7 separate regions of the Homo sapiens genome follow, and all the other regions are linked to region 4. The links are contacts of gene promoters, found by promoter capture Hi-C in blood cells and fetal thymus (Javierre and others, 2016). All regions are on one chromosome and are shown on one strand. Each heading gives the region's core, a stretch centred on a gene start or on the middle of the fragment in contact. The rest is flanking DNA. Distances are from core to core; before and after follow the strand shown. Region 1 has its middle 18 kb from the start of GJA8. Region 2 overlaps LINC00624 (long intergenic non-protein coding RNA 624). Region 3 has its middle 54 kb from the start of GJA5. Region 4 holds the start of ACP6 (acid phosphatase 6, lysophosphatidic). Region 5 overlaps LINC00624 (long intergenic non-protein coding RNA 624). Region 6 has its middle 11 kb from the start of LINC00624. Region 7 holds the start of GJA8 (gap junction protein alpha 8).

Evidence for each region. Contacts are between HindIII fragments. The CHiCAGO score rates a contact against its expected background, and 5 or more counts as called.
Region 1: a contact is called between a fragment that was not itself captured here and the fragment with the promoter of ACP6 in region 4, in 12 of 17 cell types (M0 macrophages, endothelial precursors, M2 macrophages and 9 more). The highest score is 13.9, in M0 macrophages.
Region 2: a fragment that was not itself captured here is called in contact with the fragment with the promoter of ACP6 in region 4 in 4 of 17 cell types (naive CD8 T cells, activated CD4 T cells, naive B cells and 1 more); the score reaches 7.1 in naive CD8 T cells.
Region 3: a fragment that was not itself captured here is called in contact with the fragment with the promoter of ACP6 in region 4 in 1 of 17 cell types (total CD4 T cells); the score reaches 5.6 in total CD4 T cells.
Region 5: a fragment that was not itself captured here is called in contact with the fragment with the promoter of ACP6 in region 4 in 11 of 17 cell types (naive CD8 T cells, fetal thymus, non-activated CD4 T cells and 8 more); the score reaches 13.4 in naive CD8 T cells.
Region 6: a fragment that was not itself captured here is called in contact with the fragment with the promoter of ACP6 in region 4 in 8 of 17 cell types (total CD4 T cells, naive CD4 T cells, non-activated CD4 T cells and 5 more); the score reaches 14.3 in total CD4 T cells.
Region 7: a fragment that was not itself captured here is called in contact with the fragment with the promoter of ACP6 in region 4 in 12 of 17 cell types (M0 macrophages, total CD4 T cells, endothelial precursors and 9 more); the score reaches 10.9 in M0 macrophages.

What each region holds. Positions count from the first base shown.
Region 1 is chr1:147,883,619-147,886,318 of GRCh38, reverse strand. No RefSeq gene overlaps it. Among named protein-coding and RNA genes, the nearest start is that of GJA8, 18 kb to the left of the region's middle. The HindIII fragment of the contact is 490 bases long and covers 1,196-1,685 here.
Region 2 is chr1:147,466,219-147,468,918 of GRCh38, reverse strand. The region is part of intron 3 of LINC00624 (long intergenic non-protein coding RNA 624); the gene reads left to right. Among named protein-coding and RNA genes, the nearest start is that of LINC00624, 50 kb to the left of the region's middle. The HindIII fragment of the contact is 1,006 bases long and covers 861-1,866 here.
Region 3 is chr1:147,813,173-147,815,872 of GRCh38, reverse strand. No RefSeq gene overlaps it. Among named protein-coding and RNA genes, the nearest start is that of GJA5, 54 kb to the right of the region's middle. The HindIII fragment of the contact is 4,107 bases long and covers 1-2,700 here.
Region 4 is chr1:147,669,149-147,671,848 of GRCh38, reverse strand. ACP6 (acid phosphatase 6, lysophosphatidic) reads left to right here and starts at 1,325. Exons shown (of 10, transcript NM_016361.5): 1 at 1,325-2,019. The coding sequence starts at 1,801. RefSeq lists enhancers at 863-932, 1,373-1,622, 2,263-2,322, 1,534-2,477. The HindIII fragment of the contact is 4,251 bases long and covers 852-2,700 here.
Region 5 is chr1:147,506,425-147,509,124 of GRCh38, reverse strand. All of the region lies in intron 3 of LINC00624 (long intergenic non-protein coding RNA 624), which reads left to right. Among named protein-coding and RNA genes, the nearest start is that of LINC00624, 10 kb to the left of the region's middle. The HindIII fragment of the contact is 5,017 bases long and covers 1-2,700 here.
Region 6 is chr1:147,527,684-147,530,383 of GRCh38, reverse strand. No RefSeq gene overlaps it. Among named protein-coding and RNA genes, the nearest start is that of LINC00624, 11 kb to the right of the region's middle. The HindIII fragment of the contact is 153 bases long and covers 1,175-1,327 here.
Region 7 is chr1:147,900,214-147,902,913 of GRCh38, reverse strand. GJA8 (gap junction protein alpha 8) reads right to left here and starts at 119. Exons shown (of 2, transcript NM_005267.5): 1 at 53-119. The HindIII fragment of the contact is 1,869 bases long and covers 378-2,246 here.

The DNA.
Region 1 (2,700 bases), core at 191-2,690, 210 kb before region 4:
TATACATCATTTCACTTCATCATTATTAAAGCCCTATAAAGTAACTCTTTTATTCCTGTTTTACAGATTTGGGAATGCAGTTAAATATATTATTCACTTGCTCAAGGTCATAATGCTAAGAAGTGGTAGAATCAAGATTTATATCCAGGCCCAAATTTGAAGTTTATAACTTGCATTTTTTCCATTACATGGTACGTGTCTTTTGGTTAGAGTTAGAGACAGCAGCTGGACTTCAAGAGTTTGGTAACATTACTTACTTTCTCTTACTAAAGAAATGGGGTTGGGGGGAGGAAAGAGTCTACAACTGAGCTTTAAATTGGGGATTAGTGGAAGCATATTTTATAACATTTTAAGTTCAATGTCTTTTATTGGGTTGGCCTTGAAATGAAAGTCTAGGAAATAAGATGTCTGCTCTGAGATGGGGGTGGAAGATCCTGTACTTTCACATGCCTGTTAAAATTAGAGATGAAATATAATCAGTTGATGGAGGGCTTGGATAAAATAAACTGAGACACATAACTGGCAAATATGAAAGTGCATGAAAGGGACCAAGACCCAGAAGATCGTAGAGAAAAGAGACGCATATCTCATTGCCAAGCTGGAGTTATTTCTGTTTAGAGACACCAAAGTTCTCCCTAAAACTTTTCCCTTAGTCTTGGTAATGTGAAACTCTGGGGGGGTCATTCCTACAAATTCTGCCCCCTTTGTGATCCCCTGTATAATTAGATCCATCCTTTTTAAGGAAGAGGACCTGGCAGATATGTTTCATGGTTTATACGTAATCCAGTTCCTTTCATGCTTCCTGCTGTAAACTTTTGCCTGTACATTGTATTTTTGAGACCCTACTGCAATCATTCCCAGGGTCGGAATGATCACAACCAGCTGACCAGACCAGTTAGCTGCTGTTTGGTTAACTGTTCAAGTAGATTGGAAGAAGAGGCAGTGAAAGAACTGGGCAGTGAGAGCAAGGTAAGGACATTGAGAAGATGCATGCCCAGGGATTTTGGTCTTCCGTCTTCCTTTAACTTGTATTGTCCACATGAGATTGTATTAGTGAGGGTTCTCCAGAGAAACAGAACCAATCTGATATATATATAGGCATATAAGAGATTTGTTATGGGATTTGGCTCACGTGATTATGGAGGCCAAGAAGTCCCACAATATGCCATCTGCAAGCTGGAGAACCAGGAAAGCTTGTGATGCGATTCAGTTCAAGTCTGAAGGCCTGAGAACCAGGGGAATCGATGGTGTAACTCCTGGTTCAAAGCTGAGAGCTGGTGGGATGGGGAGTTGGTGGGGAAGGCACTGGAGTAAATCCTGAAGTCTGTAGGCCTGCGAACTAGGAGCTCCAATTTCTGAGAGCAGGAGAAGATGGGTATCCCAGCTCAAGAAGAGAGAGAGAATTTACCCTTTCTCCTGCTTTTTGTTCTATTTGGGCCTTTAATAGATTAGAAGATGCTCACCCATACTGGGGGAAATGAATCTTCTTTACTCAGCATATTGATTTAAATTATAATCTTTTGCTACAACATCCTAATAGACACACCTGAAAATAATGTTTTATCAGTTAAATGGGCATCCCTTAGCACAATCAAGTTGACATATAAAATTAACCATTACAGAGATCAATCTTGGATAGGCTTCTCCTCTGGGTCCTCTCTAGCTGCCTTGTAAAATGCTAAGCTTCCAACTGTATGATTTTTCTTGTTATCACTTCTTCTATTCTTGGAAATTTAAAAAGCACTGGTCTCAGAGGGATTGTTCTCCCCTGCCCCACACCATGTTAGTTTTAAGTTTAATGATTTTCATAGTGTCCTTAAACTAACTGGTCTATTTTTCTATTGGCATAGTCAAATGGAGTTCACGTTTATACCTGCTTAAGAGTTAATTAGTTTAGTTTAAGAATCGACTTTATGTGGTTCTAGCTTTAACTCAAGAATGACTGAAATAATAACCACAATAACAGTAACACTGAATAGAATCAATGAAAGAAAATCATACTGCAGGAGGGGATGGTGGTTGTTTCATTTGTATTATTTGTTTTAACACATTCATTTGTTGCTGCCACAAAGATATAAAACCCATCATTCTTGACCTGTTCAACACTCAAACGTGTTTACAATGAAGATGATCACTATGGTCTCTTGAAAAACATGAAAAAAGAAAAACAGTTAATGATCCTCTTGTTTGGTTGGGATGGTACCATTTGGTCCATACCTCTATTATGGACTTTATTAAATTGCATGGTAGTTATTGGTTAACCTGGCTGGCTTCTCCAATAAAATGCAAGTTCCTTGAGGGCATATTAATTAAAATTCATATTAATAAAATTTTGCTGTTCTTTGATTAAATATTATCCAAAAGTCATAATAAATAAAGAATGAGGGGTCAAATTAATTAGGTTAATAAAATAACTGGGGCTGGCCAGCACAGCTAGCCAGCAGGGAACTCCCATCTAAATTCATTACCACCTGGCTATGTTTTGGCAACTCCTGATAGTAGTTGTCTGCTCTAGCCTAAATATTGATGGGGATGCTTCTGGGTCCTGTTGTTGGGATTTCCAGGGAAAGAGCAGTGATTCCAAACATCTCCTGGTTAGTGGTACCCACTTGGCCCAATTCAAGTAGATAGGTCCAGAAAAACATTAGGGATGCTGGGACTTACCCTCCACTTCGCTGCTTCCAAAGACAAATTTACCAC
Region 2 (2,700 bases), core at 114-2,613, 200 kb after region 4:
GTGTGCTTTTTAAAGTAGGTTCCTGATCCTCTTCCTCCTCAGTAGGTGGGACCTCCTAACCAGGGTCTCCAGCCACCTCCTACAGGCACTTTTGGGCTGGCAACAGGCCCATACCTTCCTGGGATGGAGCTTCCAGAGGGAGGGGCAGGCTACTGTCTTTGCTGTATTGCAGCCTTTACTGATGATATCTCCACTTACTGGAAAATTCAAGGCAACTAGGAACTGCAGAGGGACCCCAGCATACCACAGCAGCCCTATGGAAAACTGGCCAGAACAAATGGGTGCCTATTCCCACATCTCCTCACTGGGCAGGTTCTCCAGGGCTTCCAGCCACCCACTGCCAGAGCTATTGAGCCAGTAGCAACTCAGCAACTCCCTGGACAGAGCCTCCAGGGGCAACTGAAAGCTTCCCTGCCACTGCCTCTGCAGTAGAACTGCCCTTGCTGCCCTCAGACTAATGAAGGAACAAAGGCTTTAAGTGCTTTATCCATACCTCCAACAGGCTGCAGTCAGTTTAAGAAGAGGAGGTCAGTCCATCTTCCATCTTTCGGGTGGAGCCCTCAGGAGACAAGCAAAAGACCCTTGGTCAAAACCACTACTAAGGTCCCTTCCTCTGCTGCCTCTGAGATGGGGAAGAATCATAAATGCTGAGATCATCCCAGAGCTACAGTGGGCAGTCCAGGAGTGACAAGCCGTGATCTACAGTCAGCACTTAAGGGGGAGAGGAAGCCACGTTCCCAGAGGATTGAGAGGAAATATAGCTGCCACTGTGGGGAACCATAGGGGAGCTACACAACTGAGTGAGTCTACCAACTGACCCGTAAGCCTAAATGCCACCTACTGGATCACACCACAAAGCTTCAACTTAAAAAAATGCCTCACTAACATACCCCCCTGTGAAACCAGAGACAAGAAATCAGCTTCAGATAGAGACCCTGCACAAGGCCTCAGCCAGGTGAAAACATCCAGAAGTCTATTGACTGTAATCAATCTATACTACAGTTAAAGGAACACCCATATGCAGAAATGAGAAAGAACGAATGCAAGAACTCTGGTAACTCAAATGACCAGAGTTTTGTATGGCCTCAAAATGACTGTACCAGTTCTCCAATAAGAACTGGCTGGGATAACAAATAAAATTTAGAATATGGATAGGAATGAAGATCATTGAGATTCAGGAGAACAGCGAAACCCAATCCAAGGAAAATAAGAATCACAATAAAGCAATATAGGAGCTGAAGGACGAAGTAGGTGGTATAAAAAAGAACCTAACAGGTCTGACAGAGCTGATCAACACAATGCAATAATTTCACAATGCAGTCACAAGTATTAACAGCAGAATAAACCAAACTGAAGAAAGAATCTCAGAATTTGAAGACTAGTTCTCTGAAGTAAGACAGACAAAAATAAAGAAAAAGGAATAAAAATGAAAGAACAAACCCTCTAAGAAGTATGGGATTACGTAAAGAGGCCAGATCTACACAAATCATTGGCATCCCTGAAAAGGAGAGGGAGAAAGCAAATAACTTGGAAAACATTTCAGGATATCATTCACGAAAACTTCCCCAACCTTGCTAGAGAGGCCAATAGTCAGATTCAGGAAATACAGAGAATTTCTGCAAGACTCTATACAAGATTATCTCGAAGACACATAATTGTCAGATTTTCCAAGATTAAAATGCCAGAAAGAATGTTAAAGGCAGCTAGAGAGAAAGGGCAAGTTACCAACAAAGAGAACACTATCAGGCTAACAGTAGATCTTTCAGCTAAAGCCCTGTAAGCCAGACAAGATTGGGGAGCCTATATTCAACATTTTTAAAGAAAAAAATCTTCAACCAAAAATTTCATGTCTAGCCAAACTAAGCTTCCTAAGCAAAGGAGAAATATCCTTTTCAGATAAGCATATGTTGAAAAAGTTCATTACCACCAGACCTGCATTACAAGAGATTTTGAAAGGAGCATTTAACATAGGAAGGAAAGATTGCTACCAACTAATACAAAAACAGTCTTAAACACATAGACCAACGTCACTGTAAAGCAACCACACAAACAAGTCAACACAATAACCAGCTAACAACACAATGACAGGATCAGATTCACATCTGTCAGTAATAACCTTCAATGTAAATGAGCTAACCGCCCCCACTTAAAAGGCACAGAGTGGCAACCTGGATAAAAAAGCAAAACCCAATGGTATGCTGTCTTCAAGAGACACATTTCACACGAAATGACACCCATAGGCTCAAAATTGAAGGATGGAGGAAATCATTTGCTTAGTAAGGTTGTAATTTGATTACTAAGGTTGTAATTTGATTAAAGGTTGTAATCCTAATTTCAGGCAAAACAGACTTCAAATCAACAAAGATGAAAAAAAGACAAGGACATTACATAATGGTAAAGGGTTCAATTCAACGAGAAGATCTAACTATTCTAAATACATATGCACCCAACACAGGAGCACCTGGATTCATAAAGGAAGTTCTTAGAGACCTACGAAGAGACATAGACTTCAACACAGTATCAGTGGGAGACTTCAACACTCCACTGACAGTATTAGACAGATCATTGAGTGTATTGACTGTAATAGGCAGAAAATTAACAAACACATTCAAGACCTGAACTCAACATTGGACCAGATGGATCTGACCTCTATACAACTCTCCACCCCAAAACAAGAGAATATACATTCTTCTCATTGCC
Region 3 (2,700 bases), core at 47-2,546, 140 kb before region 4:
AAGGTCCATGCCTGATGCTACCCTCTTGCTCTTGGACTTCTCAGCCTCAGAATTGTGAGAAAGAAGTTTCTGTTCCTTATAAATTACCCACAAATTGATATTCTGTTACAGCAGCACAAAATGAACTGAGACACCATTCTTTCTTTCTTCCCTTATGTCAGATGTGTCCTCAGGCTAGTTCCCCTCGTGGTCGGAAGATGGCTGCCATATCTCCCAAATACAGCACAATAATGGCCAGCAGAGGGAGAGACATTTATGTGATTGATGAACCCTTTTCCAGGGCTGGCTCCATGGGCAGAGACATGTGCAGTCACATAGGACCCTGTGCTCAGAAGACCCCTTTACTTGGCTTAGTACACTGCTCTCACCATCTTGAAATTATTCCTAATCTTATCTTTGAACTTTTGTTTGATAAGTGGAATCTGATGGGAAAACGGAGCAGGTCCACGAACAGAGAGAATATGTGTCTCTGCCCTTCTGTTACCCTATTTACATATAACATCTACAATGTCCCATGAGCACAGAATGTGTGGGAAGTTCAGCAAGACTCAAAGCAAGTACATGTTGTGGGGGGGAAATGTTTTTCTCTCTATCCTTCATAGTTTTTAGATAAGAAAGACTCCTGTAAAAAAAAAAAAAGACAGAATAATAAAAGAAAAAGAAACAGAAGTTTAGTAACATGTATACCTCATGTATATCTCTGGGAGATACCCAGAGAAATGAGTTAATCTCAGAACAGACTTAAATACCATTATCTGTTAAGACAAAGAAAGAAAGGTGTGGGAAAGGCTGGTTATGAGGAGATGCCCAGGAGAAGCATGGGAAACAAGGGTAAGATTGGTTATGCAGATTAAAGTCAGTGTCTTCTCCATTGATAAGTCTCTTGTTATTTAGTCAGCCTTCTCTTCCTTATACTGAGAGAAAGATGCCCTTACAAATGGAGGCTTATGGGTATAAATTTCCCTTACAAAAGGGTAACTTCTACTCTGTTTTCAGAATTTCTCCTGTGTCTGAAGTTTCTCAAAATAATCAGCTCAAAATAATCCTTATGCCAAAAAGGCATATTTGGGGGTAGATATTCTTTTCTGCCATAGTCATACTTTGGGGTGCATATTATGTTCCCCATAGTCATATTTTGGGGTAACATATTCTGGTCTCCTACAGTCACATGTTGGGGGGTGCATATGCTGGTTTCCCACAAGGGTTCCCCTTTGTTTTTCATTTATTTTCAGAGCATCTTTAGGACCAACTGCGCACACTTTGAGAAACACTTCTTCTTTGGAAGGTAGGTTTATCAAGACAGAATTTAGTGGGCGTATTTTTCTTTTCTAGATACTATGTCCAAAGTTGGGATAGGAGACACCAGAATAACAGAGAGGAATGTTCATGTTGGTGTGGGCCCACCTACCAGGCCTTCTTGGAGAGCTGAGTCTCAGAACAGTTAGTATGTGTTTCTGCTAAAGATCTTCTTTCTCTATTAAAATACAACTCTATTAGAATAACTGTACAACATTTTAGCTAATGTCCTAGTCAACTAGTCTAACATCTCCAATCCCACTCATTTTCAGAAGTTTTGATATCCCTCTTGCCCTCCACTCACAATTATTGAACTCTTTCCTGTGGCTCCTTCAGCTATTAATAATAAGTTTAGAAAGACAATAAAAATAAACAGATGATGATGGAATTTATGGCAAAGGGTCACTAATCTGACTTTCTTGCTGTACGGATAAGAAACTGAGTGTTCCAGAAAAGGAAGTGAGTTAAATAAGATTATACTGCAAGTTAGGAGCATATTCAGGCTAGAATTCAGATGCTTCATGTTCCTCTCTGGCTGGAGGTCTAACCTCCATGTGTCATTCTACATGGCTCCTTTCTCCAAACTCCTTCCTCCTACCAGCCTCAGACCTGAATTTCAAAACATCAGTTTAGTAAATACAAGTCAGTGCAATGTGACTTGGTTGAATTTCCTTAACTTCTGTTTTTCTTCATTCCTTTGACAATGTTTTAAACCTCAAAATCATCTCCACACCCTCTTTTTTGTTTCCTTTCTTTCATTCCTCCTCTGCACTTAGTCCTCCACCTCCTACTCTGTCATTTATAGCTGCCACTCTTCTTCTGTAACATTTCTTGGTGAAGCAGAATAATAATTAAAAATAAAAACTCAACTATTATCTTAGTAGCTGGCATCAGAATTCCTGTTAGGGAAGAAATAATCTGTTAAGAACACAGACTTTTTAATATTAAATTTTGATTTGTTTCCATTGCTTCTGGGTAAATCCTCCCTTCTTCATTTTTCTCAAAATGTCAGCAAAGGCCTTGTAAAATTGTAGTGTGTGTGTGTCTATGTATGTGTGTATAAGTAAATCAAGGAAAGGGACTGGGTTTCAAGGGACTGTCACTCAAGGGACTGGGTAAGAGGGCTACACGCACTGGAAGGTGAGATCACTAACAACAGAACTAATTCCAGAACCAGAGGAGGCCACAAAAAAGTAACTGCTCTGAGAGAATGCAGACATCTTGGGGAGGGCATTAAACTTTCCACAGGATGTGGAATGGAGATTCGAGCCAATCTTATCTGAATCTCAAGTGGCAGGGTGCCTGAAACTGACATTTGGGTTATGTTAGATTTTTATTTTATTTATAATATCACATCCATTTCCTTGACCCTTCATAACCTTGCCTCACCCTACAAAGCAAGTC
Region 4 (2,700 bases), core at 76-2,575:
ACTTAGTGGGTACGAATTTGGCGGGGGACACAACTGAGTCCATAGCAAACAGTATTCGATTTTTAATCACATCAGCACACACAATAAGACTCTGAAAAGTGAGTCCCTTGGCTGGGCTAGGGAGAAAATTGTGACAATATGTAGTGTTCCAAAATGACCCTCCTCCCTGCATCAGGGAGGGGAGCACTCAGAACCTTCCAGCTTGGTGAACAGAATTTGTTCTCAGGCCAGGAGCCATGCTCTGTAAGTATGTTGTCTTTACATCTGGCCCAGTTTGATCTTTGGAGATAGACACATAGTGGGTCCCAGATTGTGTCCTGTTGCAAAGATCTGGAAACACAGGCTTGGGATACCTGTATATCAACAGAAACCAGACTAGCAGGTGGTAAGGCTGGCATTGTTCTGTGTTCTTAGGTTTTTTTTTGTTTTTTTTTTGTAGACGGAGTCTTGCGCTGTTGCCCAAGCTGGAGTCGTGTGGCGCGATCTCGGCTCACTGCAAGCTCCGCCTCCCGGGTTCACGCCATTCTCCTGCCTCAGCCTCCTGAGTAGCTGGGACTACAGGTGCCCGCCACCACGCCTGGCTAATTTTTTTTTTTTTTTTTTTTTGTATTTTTAGTAGAGACGTGGTTTCACCGTGTTAGCCAGGATGGTCTCGATCTCCTGACCTCATGATCTACCCGCCTCGGCCTCCCAAAGTGCTGGGATTACAGGCGTGAGCCATGGCGCCTCTTAGGTTCTTAATCACTGGGACACCCACAGGCAAGGCCTGGCTTTTTCCACAAGAAGTATTCTGGATGGAAGTAAACACATCAGTGACCTGAAAGTTCTACATGATTACAATGACTTAAGCTTGAGAATTTTTTTAAAAACAGAGAAGGGAGTAGTAAATGACTAAATATAAAGCACCTAGTGCTGTGTTTCGCAAATGGCAATCACTCGGCAGGTGTCTCAGCTCCTCGCTGCAGCAACCAGGCTTCCAGGACTGGAAGGAAGTCTTCTACATTCAAAACTAGACTCAAACTACTCCCCTCCACCACCCAGTTCTACTCCTGCGCTCGCGATCCTCCTGCCTGGCAAACTCCATGGCCCGACAGATTCACTACCACTCCACTGCCGGACCAGGCACGTCCGTGGGCCATCCACGCCTGGAAAACGGCTGGCTGGGCCGGAGGGGCGAGGCCCGCAGGCGAGGGGGGCGGGTACAAGCCACTTCTTGGGAGCCGCGGTACGCGCAGCCTTGTGGGAGTTGTAGTTTCCGCAGCTCTGAGTCTCCAGGCGAGGTGTCACCACAGGACTCGTTTTCCCGTGCTCCTGTGCGCGGGTCCACTTGGGACGGGTCCCTGAGTAGGTGAGGAGGTGGGTAGGAGCTTGCTTATAGAAAAGTGGAATCGAGTAGTCCTTGCTGGTGGAGCCGCTGCCGCCAGGGAACTCAGGGCCGGCTCCTGTTCCTTCAAGAGTGCTGGAGGCCAAACTTGAAATACAAGTTTAATGTTCCTCGTCGGGCAAAAGATAAGGATCCGATCTCCCCCGGCCCGGTGTGCAGCAGGAGCGACCAACCCCGACCCGGGTTAAAACTCCCAGGGACTCTTCGCTGCTGCCACCTCTTGTTCTCTCCCCCGTTCCCACTCGGGGTCTCCCTCAGGGCCGGGAGGCACAGCGGTCCCTGCTTGCTGAAGGGCTGGATGTACGCATCCGCAGGTTCCCGCGGACTTGGGGGCGCCCGCTGAGCCCCGGCGCCCGCAGAAGACTTGTGTTTGCCTCCTGCAGCCTCAACCCGGAGGGCAGCGAGGGCCTACCACCATGATCACTGGTGTGTTCAGCATGCGCTTGTGGACCCCAGTGGGCGTCCTGACCTCGCTGGCGTACTGCCTGCACCAGCGGCGGGTGGCCCTGGCCGAGCTGCAGGAGGCCGATGGCCAGTGTCCGGTCGACCGCAGCCTGCTGAAGTTGAAAATGGTGCAGGTCGTGTTTCGACACGGGGCTCGGAGTCCTCTCAAGCCGCTCCCGCTGGAGGAGCAGGTGAGAGGTCGGCCCGGGCTGGGGCTGGTGGGGCGAGGACCGTGTGCCAGGCCAGGAGTCTCGCCCTGACACACATCTTCAGAGCTTTACTCGCGCGGAGCGGGGCTCGGGTTGGGTCCAGAAGAAGGGAAAACAGCAGTAGCCAGTGACTCCCCAGGCTCTTGAGCAAAGGACCTGCTGGGGTTAGGACAGCCCCGGAACTTCCAGTTTTGCCCTGATGGCGCAGCCATCAGTAAGCGCTGCTTAAGACGCATGGGAGTCGCCTGGGGATCCTGCTACGTTGCAGATTCTGATTCAGCAGGTGTGGAGTAGTGCCCCAGGTCAGCATTTCTATTAAGGGTCTAGGTGAACTTGAATACAAGGGTGCAGTGCACTTCTGTGTGACCATTTTGAAGGTGGTTTGTCAGAGCTGAAGGGCTGAAGGGACTTTAGTGATAGGAACCACTCTTAACTGAGATTACAGTGGATAAGAGGTCGTTGCCTTTGGAAACAAACTTTATAACTGCTTTTTCTCAGGGTTTGCTGGAGGCCATTTGAGATCTCCTGAAGTTTTTTTTTGTAACAAGTGTTGTATTCTAGGGTTCTCCTTTTCTATTTAAGGTTACTAAACCTATAGTGGGAGGGATCTGAGGTCGGAACAAATTTAAAATGGGCTAGTCTGTGGCAGTAATGTTTTAAAAA
Region 5 (2,700 bases), core at 60-2,559, 160 kb after region 4:
TTGACTTTCCCAAATATCCCTGGTGATGATTAAAAAAAAAAATCACTGAGATTATCCCCGATTTGGGCCTCTAAACTCAGGGATGGTTCTGGATAAGCAACCCTGTATCCAAGTGTGTCTTAGGTGATGCTGGTTGAGAATGGGACACCCATTCTCTGGGAGCCAGCCAGAGAAGTTACCCTGCTGTTGGAGAGACGGGCTATCACTGAGGAAACAGTGCATCACCAGGGAGGATCGAATTCATGCTCCTCCTCCCCCAACAACTCTCATACCCTCACAGATACTCCTTGTTTCTCCTTGTCTCCCTTTTCTCATACCCACATCAGCTTCCCTCACTCAGTAATCAACTCATTGAGGGTTTGCTTTAAAAATGTATCAACATCGTAATCTTCTCCAAATTAGCTTCTCTATGGCCAGGAGAACCTTAGGTTAGGATGTCCTTCTCTCGTAAAGTTTCTGTAGCAAGTGAAAGCAAGAGGGACCATTGGGGTGGTAGGGCAAGACACTAATCCTCAGTGAAAAGTCTAATCCTCAGTCACTAAGTGTCCTGGCAGATTAGAGGGTAAAGTGAGTGGGGAGAATCAGCTTAAAGAACCAAATTGGATTGGGCCAGAGCAGAGGTATAGGTATGGAAGAGTGGTTTTGTCAGTAGCTGCTGATTGAGCCAAGTTCAGCATGGAACTGACAGAGATGATATGGAAGACAACTTACCTAAGTAGCTCCTGGGTCAGAAAGAAGCCTCAAAGTGAGAGAACCTGGGGGGAATCTCAGCTGGAGTCCCCTTATGGGACTTTGATACATCAAGATCTCTTGGCTATTGAGGAGATAGTGGGTCCAGAAAGGGGATGAAGAATCTGGAAAAGTGTGGGAGATCAACCATGCATAATTCTTTTTATCACTATGGAGTTTGTTCTAGAATTTTACAGTTTACAAAGTATAATCACACATATTATCTCATAATTTCCACAGTTACCTAATGTTACTGAGAAGTAGTTTTAGCTAACTCTATTTTATAATTCATTCATTTGCTCAACATATTTTGAGAGCCTTTTATGCACAAGGCACTGTGCTGGATACTGGAGATACTACAATAGACAAGACTATATCAACAGTTGAAAAGTAATTGCCATTGACAGGATTATGCTTCGGTAAGGGTAGCTGGGCACAGCCAGCAGGAAGATCTGAGGTGGTCTAGGCAAGTATTTTCAAAAGAAGTGACATTTAAGATGAGACCTAGTAAATAAAGATGAGCTTAGGTGAGGGGTAAGAGATGGAAGCATGTTACAGCTAGAGGTACAATTTATTGCAGACCCAGACACGAGAAGGTCAGAGAAAATCAGAGAAAGCAAGCAAGTGAATTTGCCTTACTCTAGGACCCACACTTTGGTGATCACAGCTGGATGAAGAATGTCAGGGGATGAATCGGAAGAAATGAAACTGGAAAGAGGAAGGAACCAAGTCTTGAAGGGTCTTGGAAGCCATGTTAAGAAGGATGAATGAGAGGTAAAGAAGACGACATTGAGCTTTCTCACTTGGGCAGTTGGCGGATGGCAGTTGGTGGATGGCAGTGGGTGGATGACTTTACTGAGGTAGGAAGCCTGAGAGGAAAAGCAGGTTTTGAGGGAGAGTTGACTAATGCAGTTTAAGACATGTCATGTCGGAAACATCATGTATCACACTGTCCAGTAAGTAGTTGAAGACAAAGATCTGGATCTCAGGAGAGGAGCATGGGCTGAAGATGGCAATATGGAACTATTGCTACATGGTTGGTTATTAAAGACAAAGAAGTAGCTGAGATTGCCAGGGAGAGTAGACAGAGGAGAAACAGGCCCAGGATAGAGCTCCAAGGAACTTCAAAAGTAAAAAGAAGAGAAGGAGAACCCATAAAGGAGTTGAAGAAGCATGTTGTTCTGTTGAGAGAGTATATTCTGGCCATATGTCTCTGGGCAAGTTAGGTCACCTCTCTGAGCCATGGTCTTTTCATCTCTAACAAGGACAGTAATAGCACCTACCTTACGGAGCAGTACCTAGAAAGTTTATCGCAATTCTGGCACATAGTAAGCATCAATTAAGGTTAGCTCATGTTTTAGTAAGAAGAATGATAACAATGAAAAAAAACAAGTAGAGTACTCAGAAGAACATGAGATGAAGTTGATGGCATGAGGGAAGAGTGTTGAGACAAGAAAAAACTGGTCAATAAGGACAAATGGGCCAGGTGAAGTGGGTCACGCCTGTAATCCCAGCACTTTGGGAGACTTGAGATGGCAGGATCTCTTGAGCCCAGGAGTTCAAGGCCAGCCTGGGCAACAAAGTGAGACCTTGTCTCTGCAAAAAATAAATACATAAATAAAGACAAATGTACTGAGGTCAAAATAAAAAGGCTGAAAACAGTCTATTGGATTTGGCTGTAGGTAGGACATTGATGACCTTTGCAAGGTATGTTTCAGGAGCATGGTCTGAGATGAGAAGACCTGGAGATAGTAATTTTGGGAGAAATGGATTTTCAGACGAGTTCGGTAGTTAGGCTGAGGACACACAGCCAGTGAACTCTGTTGTCACATAGTGACCCGAACTCAGATTGTCAGACTCCAAATTTTGTTTTCTTTCCACCTATAGGACCCAAGGAAGATAATTTAACAAATAAACCTAACTCCATGATTTCTGCTTAGTTAACTGAGGAGAGGAAGGAATGAAAAAAAT
Region 6 (2,700 bases), core at 2-2,501, 140 kb after region 4:
GAGGAGGAGGAGGATGACAGCTTACATTTGTTGACTTCTTCCTATGATCCAGATTTTGGCACAATGTACCAGGCACCTTACATGCTAGTTTAATTGAGGAGGCATTAGATAAATTATTATTGTTGTTATTATTCCTGTCACTATCAGGTGTTTCTTAGAGCCCCAGAGATAGGCTGGGGCTGTGTGGATCTGGGATGGAGCATGTCATCTCAAGTCTCTAGCCCAAGGGTTAGGAAGAAGTTGTTCCTAATACTTCCAGCCCTCCCTTGCAATTTCAGGTGGTCAGAATATGACTGGGTGGACCAGATGACTGCGGGCTTGAGTGACACAGAGTTCTAAATCTGGTTCCAGAATGTATTAGCTCTGTGGCCTTGCTGTAGTTCTTACGTTGTCACAGTTGGATATATTTATCCCATTTTCCCAATCCCACCTTGCCTAGCAGGGCAACAGGTATTCAAGACCACTGGGAAGGCCCTGCTGTCCCACTGGCAGGCCTCCCATAGCCTAAGAGCCTCTCATGAAACATTCATTTCCTTGGGTTAAAGCTCTGCCAGGGAGAGGTGACATATTAAGCCACTGACACCGTGGCAATTTAATTTCATGGAATCACAAGATGTTAGAGCTGGGAGTCACCTAGCATCTAAAGCCTCATTATTCTTGCATCTAAACCTATCTTTTCCTTTTTCCATCTACAGTGGGAGAGGTGTCCCTGCTCCTGTCTAAGCGAATCCTTCTCCTTGCACTGTGGATCCCACCTGCCATTATTCCCTCTCTTTCCCACACTGGCACCACTGCGCGCCTCTCTCCATCAGTATTTAAATAAGCTCATACACTCAGCTGTCTCTTAACTTCTCAGTCAAGCTTCTTTTTTTCTTTTTTTTTGAGACAGATTCTTGGTCTGTCGCCCAGGCTGGAGTGCAGTGGTGCAATGTCGGCTCACTGCAACCTCCCCCTCCTGATTCAAGTGGTTCTCCTGCCTCAACCTCCCAAGTAGCTGCGACTACAGGTGCCCGCCACCATGCCCAGCTAATTTTTTTGTATTTTTAGTAGAGATGAGGTTTCACCATGTTGGCCAGGCTGCTCTTGGACTCCTGACCTTATGATCTACCCGCCTCGGCCTCCCAAAGTGCTGGGGTTACAGGCATAAGCCACCACGTCCGGCCTCAGTCAAGCTTCTCTGAGATTTGCCTGTAAACTTTGAGGGGCAAATGGGAGAGCTCTGGGTATTTAGGACAAGCCTATGTTTAGGGGAGCCTGGGTCGCTTGGAGGAGGAAGAGTGAGTGACACAGAAGTTGGTTGAGAAATGAAGGAGGGAAAGTGGAAGCTTCCTGTGGACAATCTACTGTCTTCCTAATTTTACCTAAAACCAATACTAAGTTTTCACAACAATTAATAAATTATATTGGGTTTGGGTACCTGCTCTGAGTATGCTAGCTAAGTCCTGTGGGAGATACAGCCCAGTACCTACAACATAACTGCCTTTGATATGTTCACAGCTGCATCTGGATACTCAGTTACAGTATCAGCACAGGGCAGTGCATGATTAAGGCTAAACGAATGGTACAGGTTAGTGGTTCCCAAACAAGAAGCATCAGCAAGAGTCATTTGGGAACTTGTTAGCAAGGTAAATTCTCAGGCCGTGGCCCAGACCTACTGAATCAGAAACTCTGAGAGTCCTGGAAACCTGTGTTTTCAAATGCCCCCTGAGTGATTCTGATGCATGCTAGGGTTTGAGAACTGCTGGTACAGGCAATAAGAACCACTGTAGGCTGGAGTTTCAGGTCAGACTTATAGGGCATTTGGCACTTAAATTTGATTCTGATCAGTGGAGTAGAGCAAAGGGTAGAGAGTGATCAAGAAAGAGTAAACCAGATGAACAAATGTATAGATATTGGGTTGCATAAGCTAGAGAAAAGGTGGAGGGAGGGTGCTGAGTGGGGCAGAAAGAGGAGCGGCCTGGCCTGGTTGACGTGGAGATGCCTGCAGAGGATGATGGTGAGGGCAGGAAGCCTTGACTACTAGCTATCATCTGGGGAAATAGAAACCTCTTCTGTGTCTCTCCATAGAGAAGGCTCCACCTACCACATCTAAGTTCTTTCTTTCCTTTACCTTCACAGGCATTCTCTTCCAGTCTCTCATCTCCAGAGGTGAGGATCACCCCTCTCCTTTGACGTTCACAGCTCTGATCCAGGATGGCATTTCTTTTCCTGCCTCCCCCGTCAGTACTTCCTCCTTCTTCCTCTGAATCCACCCCCTCACTACTGCTGCAGATGAAAAATTATAAACCACTCTTGAAAAACTGTTCCTAGAGAGGATACACGATTTGAACAAGTTCCTATTCAAAGCGTCAGGGGAGCGACACCTGCCTCTTAAATTCTGACAGCGTATACCAGGGATTCATTAGGCAGGAACAGAGGATGGTTTTTGGAGTGGGCTTTCTACTGTGCCTCTACAGTTAAGTTACACAGGGACCTTGCAGAAGGCTCAATGTGTTATGATTGGAAGCAGCTCTCTGTGGGAAATCCCTTCCAAAGCCCAGAGGAATCCTTTAAGGTGGTGCAGACTTGTTTCCCAGTGGGATCTTCTCTGAAGACAGAGCCTCCAAATGCACGTTTAGGCTCTGATGTTTAGAGCACCTTATTCCCGAGAGGCAGCCTGGTGTTGTGGGATGTGCAGCAGGTGATGAATGTACTGGAGGA
Region 7 (2,700 bases), core at 63-2,562, 230 kb before region 4:
AAGAACAATTGGGGGGAAGGTTACAAACTAATATCACCCAAGGAAAACTTGCCAATACAAGGAGTGTCCCACGGAGAAATATGTGCTCTTTCTCTCTTGGCGCTCAGCAGCAAAATGGCAACTTTCGTCTCTTTCCTTTGCTGCCTAAAAGCCCACCTCCCACTTCTCTACCCCGCCCCTACTGTGCTGCACGACTGAGCAGATATGACTGGATTGGCCCTGATGGGTAGGTTTTACTGTCCAGCAATATTTTAAGCTCCCAGCCAGACAGCTTTTATGAAGGGAGGGATGTTTGGGAAACAATGGGAGTGAGAGAATGGGAGAGCTGTGTTGGGCACTGAGGGGAGGAGGATGGGGAAAGCTGATGTGTGAAAGCTTAGCTGGGGCTTCTGTGCCTCCCAAAGTTTCTTTTAGCAGCAGACTGGGCCTGTACATCAGTAAACCTTTGGCGTCTCTCCAGAGCGCATGAGCCTAGGGGCATTTTCCCAAGGCCTTATCATCAGCTGGGAGAATCTTAATGATGTAGGGACAGTAAGTGGTCAGTTGTGTGAATCCCTCTGCCCTGAGTCACACCAAGAGTGGTTGGTCCTTTCCAAAGGACCATATTTCATTTTTTATTGGTGGTTTGCTCTTGTCTCTCAAAGCCTTCAGCAGAATTGTGGATATTAGAGGCTGGGAAGTGTAGTGGCGGAAGGAAGGATGGGGAGCATGTTGCTAATAGATACAAAAGCACAGCTAGATAGGGGGAATGGGTTCTGGTGGTCTGCAGTGCTGTAGGGTGAATATGGTTAACATTAATTAATTAATTATTTTAATTTTTATATTTTTGTGTGTGTGTGAGACAGAGTCTCGCTCTGCCACCCAGGCTGGAGTGCAATGTCACGATCTTAGCTCACTGCAACCTCTGCCTCTCAGGTTCAAGTTATTCTCCTGCCTCAGCCTCCTGAGTAGCTGGGATAACAGACACCCACAACCACGCCCAGCTAATTTTTTTTTTTCTATTTTTAGTAGAGACGGGGTTTCACCATGTTGGCCAGGCTGGCCTCAGACTCCTGACCTCAGGCGATCTGCCCGCCTTGGCCTCCCCAAATGCTGGGATTACAAGCATGAGCGACCATGCCTGGCCGTTAACTATTTTATTGTATAGTCTCAAAAAGCTAGAGGAGAGGATTTTGATTGTTCCCAACAGAAAGAAATGATAAATGTTTGAGATGCTGAATATGCTAATTATCCTGATTTGATCATTACACATTGTATACATGTATTGAAATATCACTGTGTATCACAAATACGTACAATTATTATGTGTCAACTAAACATAAAAGGAAAGAGCTTTCTAAAAAGATCAAAACAATAAAAAAGAAACACAAACAAACCTTCAGCAGGGTGGTCTCCCTCTTTGAAAGGAGCCTTAACACTCCAAAGAATTCTGGTGCCATTTGTCAAAGTAATAGCCTTTCTCACCACGTTTCACTTATAATTACATATACTTTTGAGTAGCGGAAGTTCAATCAATGTCAGCTAACATTTTTAGACTTTAGTGCCTTCATCTGTTAAATGGGGATATGATGGTTTTGCTCACCAGGAGGCTCTTGGATTAAATTCTAATGTGGCTTAATGAGGAATGATGCTTGGAGGGCATGGACATATGCTCTCTGAGGCCCACTCCCGTCCCATCATCTGGGACTGACTATTGGTAGTATAAAAAATGGTTATTTTGACTACATTTCCAAACCAAAAATAGGGGCATTTTATCCTACAAGTTTATTCGTGAAAACAATGGAGCAAAAATAGTTGAAACTTAGATTGTTTTATGAAATCTGCAATGTATGATTACTAAATTGAAGACAACTTGGAGGGCAAACTAGACAAAAAAAATCTAAGCACTGGCTTCACCACCCCACCCCCCCTTCCTGTCCTTTCTGGTGTCATGGACATATTGCATTTTGATGGGGGCAGTTTGAAGGAGGATGGTACCAATGTTGTGTGAGTCCCCAATTCCATTTTAAATAAAATGGTCACTAGCCCAAAACCTTGTTTACTTTAGATGTCTGATTTCTTTTGAACTCCCAAGTTTGAGGGCCCACACTGACTGGGACAATGCCCTATAGCAAATCCTTCAGTTAAAAATAGATGGTCAAGGCTGATCCCTGCAATATCAATAAGGTAAGAAGTCAGAGGATGAGGGGAAAAAATCCAATCATTCTTTCTTTGGGAATATTCAGTACATGCTGATTCCTGAAGCTTGCGCTCTCCCTGATATAGTCCTATGAAGAGAAAAGAATCTACAAAGCTTCTCTTTAAAATGAAGTTCTCCCTATCCAAGGCTTCCCAGTCCAACTTGGCTAATGTAGTGGGTGGTGTCATCGCTCATCATCATTTTGTGAGAGATGGTAGTAGAGGATGCATTTGAATCCAGAAAAACGGGGCTGTCAACAAGGCTCTGAACCAGTTATAGTCTCTCGGATTTAGACAAATCTAGCTTTTCAATTTAGCACTTTCTTTGTTTTCTTACGCTGTTAACAAAGAAGATACTCCTCTACTCGTAGTACCCAATTGATTAAGTTATCTTTGTTATTGGTTCTTCTGTTTGTAGCTGGGAAGTCCTTGAAAATATAAACACTCAGTCGTGTATATCTTGGGGAAAGTTTTGAAAGAGATCGGGAAAGAGGCTCACCTTAGCTACCATTGAGAGATGAC